Linked DNA regions of Homo sapiens: all the other regions are linked to region 2. Evidence: promoter capture Hi-C in 16 types of primary human blood cells and fetal thymus (Javierre and others, 2016). All regions are on one chromosome and are shown on one strand. Each heading gives the region's core, a stretch centred on a gene start or on the middle of the fragment in contact. The rest is flanking DNA. Distances are from core to core; before and after follow the strand shown. Region 1 holds the start of ARHGEF18-AS1 (ARHGEF18 antisense RNA 1). Region 2 holds the start of PSPN (persephin). Region 3 holds the start of XAB2 (XPA binding protein 2).

Evidence for each region. The method cuts DNA at HindIII sites, captures the fragments that hold promoters and counts their contacts. A CHiCAGO score of 5 or more calls a contact.
Region 1: the fragment with the promoter of ARHGEF18-AS1 here is called in contact with the fragment with the promoter of PSPN in region 2 in 2 of 17 cell types (fetal thymus and total CD4 T cells); the score reaches 9.3 in fetal thymus.
Region 3: the fragment with the promoter of XAB2 here is called in contact with the fragment with the promoter of PSPN in region 2 in 1 of 17 cell types (non-activated CD4 T cells); the score reaches 5.3 in non-activated CD4 T cells.

What each region holds. Positions count from the first base shown.
Region 1 is chr19:7,393,743-7,397,129 of GRCh38, reverse strand. It overlaps ARHGEF18-AS1 (ARHGEF18 antisense RNA 1), which reads left to right and starts at 2,071. Exons shown (of 2, transcript NR_186326.1): 1 at 2,071-2,137. All of the region lies in intron 10 of ARHGEF18 (Rho/Rac guanine nucleotide exchange factor 18), which reads right to left. RefSeq lists an enhancer at 1,204-1,383 and silencers at 1,594-2,163, 1,872-2,312. The HindIII fragment of the contact is 12,223 bases long and covers 1,331-3,387 here.
Region 2 is chr19:6,374,054-6,377,472 of GRCh38, reverse strand. It overlaps PSPN (persephin), which reads left to right and starts at 1,540. Exons shown (of 2, transcript NM_004158.5): 1 at 1,540-1,771; 2 at 1,857-2,325. The coding sequence starts at 1,624. The coding sequence ends at 2,179. It overlaps ALKBH7 (alkB homolog 7), which reads right to left. Exons shown (of 4, transcript NM_032306.4): 2 at 3,097-3,270; 3 at 2,884-3,008; 4 at 2,223-2,662. The coding sequence ends at 2,500. The HindIII fragment of the contact is 10,611 bases long and covers 1-3,419 here.
Region 3 is chr19:7,627,581-7,630,794 of GRCh38, reverse strand. XAB2 (XPA binding protein 2) reads left to right here and starts at 1,250. Exons shown (of 19, transcript NM_020196.3): 1 at 1,250-1,318; 2 at 2,497-2,645; 3 at 2,944-3,067. The coding sequence starts at 1,268. It overlaps PET100 (PET100 cytochrome c oxidase chaperone), which reads right to left and starts at 1,002. Exons shown (of 4, transcript NM_001171155.2): 1 at 935-1,002; 2 at 136-222. The coding sequence starts at 961. It also overlaps a transcript of STXBP2 not described here. RefSeq lists enhancers at 909-958, 1,219-1,338. The HindIII fragment of the contact is 14,766 bases long and covers 1-3,214 here.

The DNA of each region.
Region 1 (3,387 bases), core at 822-3,321, 1.0 Mb before region 2:
ACACATCTTCATTTTTTTTTTTTTTTTTTTTTCGCAAAAAGGCTTGCTGACCTACAGAAATAGGAAACTACTGATAAAGCGTAAACCCTGACTCGGTCCAAACAACATCCGAGATGCTCAAATTTTCCAAACTCTTTATAATTTGGAATGTTAACCTAAACATCCAAGCCTGGGAGCATTCGCATATGCAAAGGGTGTATAACACTGATGGAAAGTTTGCCATATGCCAGACACTTCTGTGATGCACCTTACACAGATTACTTCATAGAAACCCCAACCAACCCTTATTCCCATTTTAAAGATGGGAAGACGGAAACTTAGTGAAGTTACACGGCTAACAGGTGGTGGAACTGGGACCAGAACCCAGCTCGGATCTGACCTCAAGCCTGTGCTCCTGACACTTCTTTTTTTTTTTTTTTAGACAGTCTTGCTCTGTCGCCAGGCTGGAGTGCAGTGGCCCGATCGCGGCTCACTGCAACTTCTGCCTCCCGAGTTCAAGTGATTCCCCTGCCTCAGCCTCCAGAGTAGCTGGAACTACAGGCGCCCGCTACCATGCCCGGCTAATTTTTGTATTTTAGTAGAGATGGGGTTTCACCATGTTGGCCAGGATGGTCTCGATCTCCTGACCTCGTGATCCACCCACCTTGGCCTCCCAAAGTGCTGGGATTACAGGCTTGAGCCACCGCGCCCAGCCTCTCCTGACACCTCTTACAGCTGGAGGATTAATCATTCACTCAGACACCTGCAAAACTCATCCCTTGGCCACTGGGCTGTCTATACTGTCCTGAACTCTCTCTCTGGTCAATGGGAAGAGAATGGGGCCCTTCAAAGCTACTGGCTGGAGCTTCATCTCCGCGAAAACAAGGCAAAGGGGAAAAGGTGTGTTGGCCGCTTCGCTTCCGTGGTAAAACTTTAAGAATGTTTTTTAATCCTGTGGTCCAGGCTTTAATCTCAACAGAGCAAGAGATAAGGGGCAGATAGCCACAGCAAAACACTCAAGTGCTAGTAGAATTAACGCAGGAAAAGAAAACCAAATACTGCACTTTCCCACTTGTAAGTGGAGCTAAACCTTGGGTACTCATGGACACCAAGAAGACAACAGAAACTGGGCTCTACTAGAGCGGGAAGGGAAGGAGGAGGTCAAGGGTTGAAACTATCTATTGAGTACTATGCTCAGTACCTGGGTGACGAGATCAGTCACACCCCAAACCTCAGCATCACGCAATATATCCAGGTAACAAACCTGTACATGTACCCCCTCAATCTCAAATAAAAGTTGAAATTTAAAAACGTAAAACAAAACGAAACATGTAAGGACCAGGGGAAAGCTTCTCGTTCCCGTCCGCAATGAAAGCACCAACTGAGTTCTTATACAAGAAACTAAAACCCATGGCACAGATAGTTCTCACGGTTTTGCACCCAAACGCTCCCTGCCAGGGAGGGCTGTCTGCTCCGGGGTGTGAGGGTTCTCCCGGGAGGCCTGAAATACGACGGTGCTGGGTATTGTGGTGGGTTCCATTCCATCCCTGGTCCTGCCCCGGGCGCTCCTGAACGAGGAGCAGAGGCTGGGGCCCAAGTGACCCCTCCTCTCCTCTCCTGGAGGAGAGTAAGCCGTAGCACCCCAGGACTGGCTGGGGCTCGGACGGAGCGGGCGGGCATCGTCTGCACCTCTGCACCCTGCAATCGCCGCCTAGAGCCTCCATGCATTGAAGGAGCAGCCTGCACCCCAGCACCCGTTCGCCTGCCTGGAGAAGTCCCCCAGGAGCCGGCGGGAGGCCCGAGGCAGCCCCGGGGGTCCCGCGCCCCAGGCCACCCCCTGAAGAGACCGAGGGCCCCCTCCTGAGCCCCGTTTTCCTCGGGACCGCCCCGCCGCCGTCCTCACCTCGGCCCGATCGCCCGCAGGCCGCTCTCCGCCAGCTCCTCTGCCACTCTCGCAGCCGCCTCCGATGCCTCCGTCCGGCCCCCCCAGATCCACAGTAGCTAGCAGCTGGGAGCCGGAAGCGGGAAGCCGCGCGAGGAGAGCAGCGCATGCGCGATCCCGCCTCGGAGGCGGGGCAGAGGGCGTGACCCGGAAGGAGGCGTGCCCTCGAGGGCGGGGCGCTCCCGGGGACCTGGGGCTGCTGCTCCCCGAGCCGTGGTGAGGGGGCGTCGGCTCGGCCTTGAGAGGGGCGCGGGCACCGAAGTGGGAGGGTGCTCGCGGCGAGGGTGAGGGCGACTTTTGAGGGGCGGGTCAGCGGGGTTGGGGGGCTTTTTGAAGGAGAGCAATGCGAGCCTGGCTGTCAGTAGGGCCGGGGGCTCTGAGGGGACAGCTGGGTTGCGGGGATCCAGAGGGAGAGCAGCAGGGTTAGGTGGGCGTTTTGTGGGGTTAACGGAAGCCTGGGTGATTAGCGCGGCTGGGGAGGGAGTCCTGAGGAGGACAGCGGTTTGGAGAATCTCAAGGGGGGTACAGCACAGTTAGGGGGACCCTGAGGGAGGACAGCGGGGTTGGGGGACCCCAAGGGAGGACAGCGGGGTTGGGGGGACCCCGAGGGAGGACAGCGGAGTTGGGGGACCCCGAGGGAGGATAGCGGGGTTAAGGGGACCCCAAGGGAGGACAGTGGAGCTGGGGGTGTTTTGGAAGAATCAACGGATGCCTGGAGGGGTTGTCAGTGGGCTCCTACGGGCTCGTTAGGATTGGAAGTACCTAAGGGGGGCACTCCCAGTGGTGGGGAGTCCTAGCGGGGAGAGTCCAAGAAATGGAGAGGGCAGGGTCTGTCACCTGAGAAAAAAGAAGCAGCATCAGGGAGTGGTGGGGGGATCACTTCATCCCAGGAGTTCAGGACCACCAGTCTGGGCAACATAGCAAGACCCCATCTCTACAAAACATTTTTTAAAATGAGCAGGGCATGGAGGCGCCTGCCTGTGGTCCCAACTCCTCCAGAGGCTGAGGTGGGAGGATGACTTGAGCCTGGGAGGTCCAGGCTGCGGTGAGCTATGATCATGCCTCCAGAGGCTGAGGTGGGAGGATGACTTGAGCCTGGGAGGTCCAGGCTGCAGTGAGCTATAATCATGCCACTGCACTCCAGCCTGGACAACAGAGCAAGACTCTGTCTCAAAATAACAACAACAAAAAAAGAGGCAGCATAGACTTCAGAAAGGTGGGTCTGGGAAAAATGAATCATATACCTCTCCAGTGGTCTCAGACACCCCAACATAGATACCATCAGATCCCCTAAACACAGGCACCCAGGCAGGTGCCATCAGATACCCAAAACAGGCTTCCAGGTAACCCCCAAATATGTCAGACACTCCACATAGGTCCAGCAGATACCCCCAAACACATACTAGATAACCCCAATACAGATGCTGTCAGATACCCTCAAACAGGTGCTCAGAGTCTGAAACACA
Region 2 (3,419 bases), core at 291-2,790:
TGATCCTCCCACCTCACCCTCCCAAAGTGCTGGGATTATAGGCATGAGCCACTGGGCCCCGCCAGGCTTTTTTGAGACAGTATCGCTCTGTCGCCCAGGTTTGAGTGCAATGGCACAATCTCAGCTCACTGCAACCTCCACCTCTCAGGTTCAAGCAATTCTCCTGCCTCAGCCTCCCGAGTAGCTGGGATTACAGGCGCCCACCACCATGCCCAGCTAATTTTTGTATTTTTAATAGAGATGGATTTCACCATGTTGGTCAAGCTGGTCTCAAACTCCTGACCTCAGGTAATCCACCCGCCTCAGCCTCCCGAGGCATGAGCCACCACGCCAAGCCCAGGCTTTTCTTTCCATCGGAAAATTATCATCTCAATAAGCACTTCAGTAAGAAAAACCACAACATAATCATCGAAGCAATCCCTCACGGATGGAGTTGAGGCCACTTCCAGACTTTCCTAATATGAAGAAGGCATCAGATGTCCCTGTGCTGGCTGTTTCACTTGCCTGTGTGGGAGGAACCCCGCAAACAGGGCTCCTGGGGCAGAGGGTGTAATTTACAATTCCCCAGTAGCAGCTGCTCATCCAAAGAGCTGCTAGCAATTTACACCCCCACCAACAGCACAGGGTGCACCTGGGTCACACGGGTTGTGTGTGAGGGTTTTCTGATTTTCCCCAATCTTGTGGGTGCTTAGAGTCAAGCACCCCTTCGGACAATCACAAGCTGTTTGCTTGTTTTTGCATTCGAAGCTACGGGCACTGCCTTACACTCTAAGTGCCCATCTCTTTCCTCACCAAGCCGAGTAGGAGGGGTTCTGAGGAGCTCCCCTGTACCGGTGAGGGGACTGGGCTCACACGGGGCTGGGTATGGAAGCCTCGAGAGCCCTTATCTGTCTGCATCGTGCTAGACGTTACCATGACCTGGACAGCCTCCATCGCCCCGGGGGCTCTGACATGCTCAGATCCCAGGATGGGGCTGCAGTTATAGGGGTCTCAGGTTGGCCTTCCCGAGACAGGCGTCCCTGTCCCCTTGTGTCCCCACCCTTGGCTGTCCCCAGGCCTCTCCCTTTTCCTGTTTTGATGCTGGCTCAGCCAGGCCCGGAGACAGGGGCATGATGTCCTAATCCTCCAGGCGGGAGCCACCATGGAGGGTTCCCGTGGACTCAGTCCCCTGCCAAGCCACCTTTCCCAGCACTCACATATGCTCCACCTGGCACATGATACACGTGGGGGCTCCTGAGCCCCAGCACCCTGACTTAGTGGGGAGGGACCCCACCGGGGTCCCATGAAGCCCCCTGACTTCCACTCCAGGCAGCAGGTCGGGGGAACACCAGTTGCCTGCCCTGGCCGCCAGCACAGCACTCGTAAATCAGGGGGTGTCTGGGGCGTCGGAAATGGCTGTGTGGAATGTCGGGGTGGGGTAGGCTGGGGGTGAGCCCTTAACTCTTAGAAGGGTGGGGTGTGGGGCAGAAGGAGCAGATGCCTGGATTCGAGGGTGCAGGAGATGGGCTGGTGCAGACGTGGGGCCTCCTGGCTGCAGGGGCCGGCAGTGAAGAGGTTAGCTCCCAGCCCAGGCAGGGCATAAATTTGGGGCACAGCTCCCACTCTCAGGACCTGCCCGTCACAATGGCCGTAGGGAAGTTCCTGCTGGGCTCCCTGCTGCTCCTGTCCCTGCAGCTGGGACAGGGCTGGGGCCCCGATGCCCGTGGGGTTCCCGTGGCCGATGGAGAGTTCTCGTCTGAACAGGTGGCAAAGGCTGGAGGGACCTGGCTGGGTAAGGACTTCCAGGGACCCTCTGTGACTTCCCAACTTTCCCCAGCCCTGACCCTGCTCACTGTCAGCGCCCTTCCCTCCCACAGGCACCCACCGCCCCCTTGCCCGCCTGCGCCGAGCCCTGTCTGGTCCATGCCAGCTGTGGAGCCTGACCCTGTCCGTGGCAGAGCTAGGCCTGGGCTACGCCTCAGAGGAGAAGGTCATCTTCCGCTACTGCGCCGGCAGCTGCCCCCGTGGTGCCCGCACCCAGCATGGCCTGGCGCTGGCCCGGCTGCAGGGCCAGGGCCGAGCCCACGGCGGGCCCTGCTGCCGGCCCACTCGCTACACCGACGTGGCCTTCCTCGATGACCGCCACCGCTGGCAGCGGCTGCCCCAGCTCTCGGCGGCTGCCTGCGGCTGTGGTGGCTGAGGGTGCCCGGCCTGGCACCCAGAAGCTGCAGTGCTGGGGGAGCTCGGCTGACTTATTTATTGGAGACCTGGATGCAGAGACAACGAGGAGGGGAGTGGGCTGGGGCGACCAGCAGTGAGTGCAATAAAGGACACCACTCTCCCGGCCTTGTGACTTTGACCATGTGTCCAGCCAGCCACACCTGGAGCTCCCTATGGGCCAGTGCCATCCTGGGTTCCCCTGCAAATCCCGGCCCCAGCAAGCAGCCACTGCAATGTCCCAGTTAGGCTGTCCATTCCCCAACTTTATTCACAAATCTGGTGTCTGTAGAAAGCTGGGGGTCAGCAGGCTGGGGGCGGCTGTCCAGACTCCCCTGGCCCCATGCCCTCAGGGAGGGAGCGGCAGATCACGGAGATGCGCCGGCCCCGGGGAATCCGGCGTTCCCCAAAGAAGGACTCTTCATCCCGAAGGATCTCATGGGAGAAGTCATAACGGGCTGAGCCCCTGCAGGAAGAAACAGGCTGTGACTGGGTGCAAGGAGGGCAGCCCCTGCTCCAGGCAGACCTGGATTCCAGCCTCCTGGATTCCAGCCCCCTGCTGCCTCCCACACAGACCCTGGGGTAAAGGCGTCTTCGGGGAGGGCTGGATTGAGGGAAAGTACCCAGGGCACAGGGTGGGCGGATGGCACATTCTTGGAGGGGTGGGTGCTGCCTGGATGGAGGTACCTAAGGATGTAGAGGGAGCCCGGCTCCAGCAAGAGTTCCAGCCACTCCCCCGGCTCCTGGGTGTGCACCAGCCGCATAACGCTGGGAGACAGGAGAGACAGGCCGGCGATGGTGGCCCCGCAGAACTGCAAAAGAGGCGTGGGGATGGGTCAGGATCTAACCGGGCCTGCCTACCCCCTGGCTGGGAGTGCCAAGGCACCGTCCTCTGCCCACCTTGATGCTGTCCACGTGGGGCTTGATGTAGCCGCGGGCTTCCAGGTCCAGCACGTGCACGGAGGAGAGCAGGGTCTGGCCGGGGCCAAAGGCGGCCGCCTGCACGCGCTGCAGGATGGCCCGGCTGGCTTCTGACCAGCGCGACTTCTCTGTCTCTCGGAAGCCGTGGATGGCCTGCACAGAGAGCTCGGTTAAGCCTGGGAGCTCCCAGAGGGAACAAGGAAACTGAGGCAAGGAGGGGCAGAAAACGGCAAGGGGCTGGTTTCCCTATGTGACTCTTGACCCTGCCCTCAACTCAAACTCCCCTAGCCCCTCAACTATGG
Region 3 (3,214 bases), core at 1-2,500, 1.3 Mb before region 2:
GAGCCAAAGGCCTCCAGAGCCCCACATCAGGGCAGGGTCGGCTTATGGGAGGCAGACATTAGTCCCCAGCAGACTGCTGCCCCACACCCTCTCCCACCCCTGGAATGAACCCTCAAACACTCCTCTTATGCCCACCTTGCGCTGTATGACATCGTCCTCAAACCACTCGGCCTGATTGGAAACCCAGAACATAGCCACAGGGAAAGTGAGGTAGATTATCATCTGGAATGGCAGAGGGTGGGTGAGGTGAGCTCCCCCCAAGCAATGTGCAGAGGCTCCTCAGAGCCTGGGGGACCCATCCTACTGCAGAGTCCAGAAGCGCCTCGTTACGGCCGACCCAAGAATCCCAGAACTCCCACCAAGGGTACAGAAACCTCGCACCCTAAAACCTAACTCCTATAATCCAGGAGGCCTCATTCCTGAAAGTTCCCTCTGAGCTGGAGTCTTCCTCTCAAACACAGACAGACACACAGACGCCCCAGCTACAATCAAAAGCATCTCCTCGAGACCTCATTACCCATCCCCACTTAAGATCCCGGGAGCACCCCCAAACCCAGGAGGCGTCACTCTTCAACTCCACTTCTCGAAGTCTAGGAATCTCCCTGTCATAGACACCCACCCACCACGAGCCCGAGAGCTCCCCCAGGATCTTAAGTCTTCCTTCTTTAGAGCCCCCTTCTCAGCTCACCCCTCTCTGAGGTCCTTCCTCGGACCAGCCCTCTCACAGCCCCCAAACCCAGAAGCCCAAATCCGAGAACCCCCCCAGCCCAGCGTCCCCTCTCCTGGATTTCCAACCAGAAAGGTTCCTCTCAAATCTTAAGAGCTTTCTCCTTGGAGCTCCCTCTTCCTTTGAAGTCCCCCCATTTCCAACCTCATCTTCAGATCCAGGAAGATCCCCTGCCCAGCCTCCCAACCCACTCCTGTGTCCACTGACCCGAAATATCTCCAGCTTCACCCCCATCTCGTTTCTCCCGGTCAACAAAGCCAGTTCCGCCCAAAGCCGACCCTCCAGCAAGACAGAAGCTCACTGGTGTTTTGCACGCTCCATTGCTGAAGCTGATTGGCCAATGTGTATCCTGATGGCGCATCTTCTGGCGCCTCTATTCTGCTTCCGGTCGCTGGCGTCGTCGAAAAGAAGTCAATAACGTGGGCCTGTCCGTCAAAAATGATTTAACCAATAGAAAACGGGTCTGGCTCGGAGGGGCGGGCCGTCAGTGGTAGACGTCATAAGCGCGCGACTCTCTCCTGTACCTGGGCATCCAGAAAAATGGTGGTGATGGCGCGACTCTCGCGGCCCGAGCGGCCGGACCTTGTCTTCGTGAGTCCACAGAGGAGCCGGGGGTGGCCTGCGTTGGGGCATTGGGACCTGGACGCCGCAGGGGATCGAGGCTGGGTCGGCAAGGAGATTTAGGCCGAAACTGCCAGGCCAAGGTCTGGGAACCCTAATGGGCCAGAGACCGGATCGTCATGTCCGCACCGAACTGTCCAGGAGTAAAAATATGGTGTTGTATCTTCGGGTCTGAGTAGAAAACCACTGTCGAAGGGAAGCGTCTAGCCTCCCGAACCAGGGGCGGAAATGGGGGCGTGCAGGGAATGGGAGAGGAGGAAGATCGCATAACTGAACCTTGAGAGGTGAAGATCGGTGTCTGAAGTAAAGGCTTGCTTACGAGGCCAGGGTTCTGGTTTCTGGGATGAAGGCTTGGTTTTCTGGATAGCGGTCTCTAGGCCTGGACTGCAGCATGACAGTTTCTGGGGTGGTGGCCAGGCTAGAAGAACCCTGGTGATGTGGAGCTTGTCAGGCGATGGCCAGTGAAATACTTACTCTCTGGAGTAGAGGCGTGACATCTTCACCAGATTCTTGGTGTGCAGAGTTAAAGGCTTGGCTTCTGGTGTATAACTCCTCCTGTGAGATAAAGGCCTAGCTTTTAATTTCTGGGGCAGAGTTGAGCTAGACGCTGGCTAGTGGGATCCTGGGGGCGGGGCTAGTGGCTTGGAATCTGGACCTGAGAGCCCTGGTGGCTGGGGTAAAGATCTGGTCATCTGGGCCTGGGGTGGAGATGGGTCAGATGGTGACAGTGGGAGTCTGAGGGGCCAAAGGCCTGGTGTCTGGGAAGAGGCACGTTTTGAAGAAGTGGGGTCTGGTGTCCAGGACTGGCATCTGGGCCAGGGCCTTGGTATCTAAGGAGTCTGACCATCTGGGGCAGAAAGCGAGTGGTGATGCGGACTCATTCCTGGCCCAGAGCCCTAATGACTGAGAAGTCTGATGATTTGGGTTCGATTTTGGGTAGTTGAATTCTGAGGGGTAAAGGTCTGGGCCACTGTCTTGGTGTCGGGCATCTGGTTTGGTGCCTGGGCATCTGGTGACCTGACTTCCTTGGTGGGTGGTGGGATCTAGGTAAAAGTCCGGAGTTTGGACCTGAGCCCCAGCAGTGGGATGGTGCTGCACACAGGCTCTGAGGGTAGGCCTCTCTTCTTCCCATTCCCTGGCCCTGGCAGGAGGAAGAGGACCTCCCCTATGAGGAGGAAATCATGCGGAACCAATTCTCTGTCAAATGCTGGCTTCGCTACATCGAGTTCAAACAGGGCGCCCCGAAGCCCAGGCTCAATCAGCTATACGAGCGGGCACTCAAGCTGCTGCCCTGCAGGTGGGAATGGCTCCAGCTGCCCTGCCCACCAGCCCCCACCCCACCTGGTCCAGTTATAACAAAACTGCCAAGTGGGTCCCGGGTCCCGGGTGATTGCTTCGTGTTTCATCACTGACCTGTACATCCCTTGATGGGTCAGCACACCTTCTCTGATGTCCCAGTCTGTCCCTGTCATTGCTGAGACATGTCACCCCTCCCACACCCCTTCTTCCCACATTTGCCAACTGGGGCAGGGCAAATGGTTCTGGGGGTGTCCATAAAGCTGACCGATCAGCATCTGTCCCCTCCTATTCCCCAGCTACAAACTCTGGTACCGATACCTGAAGGCGCGTCGGGCACAGGTGAAGCATCGCTGTGTGACCGACCCTGCCTATGAAGATGTCAACAACTGTCATGAGAGGGCCTTTGTGTTCATGCACAAGGTTTGGGGCTCGGCGAGGGGATGAATCGGGAAGTGGAGCTCAGTCCATGGTGGTGGGTGGGGCGGGGACAGGGGCTGGGCTCAGCATGTTAGGGATGGGGGCTTGGATTCCTGTTGCTTCTTTGCATGGGAAGTTGGGCTGGACTCA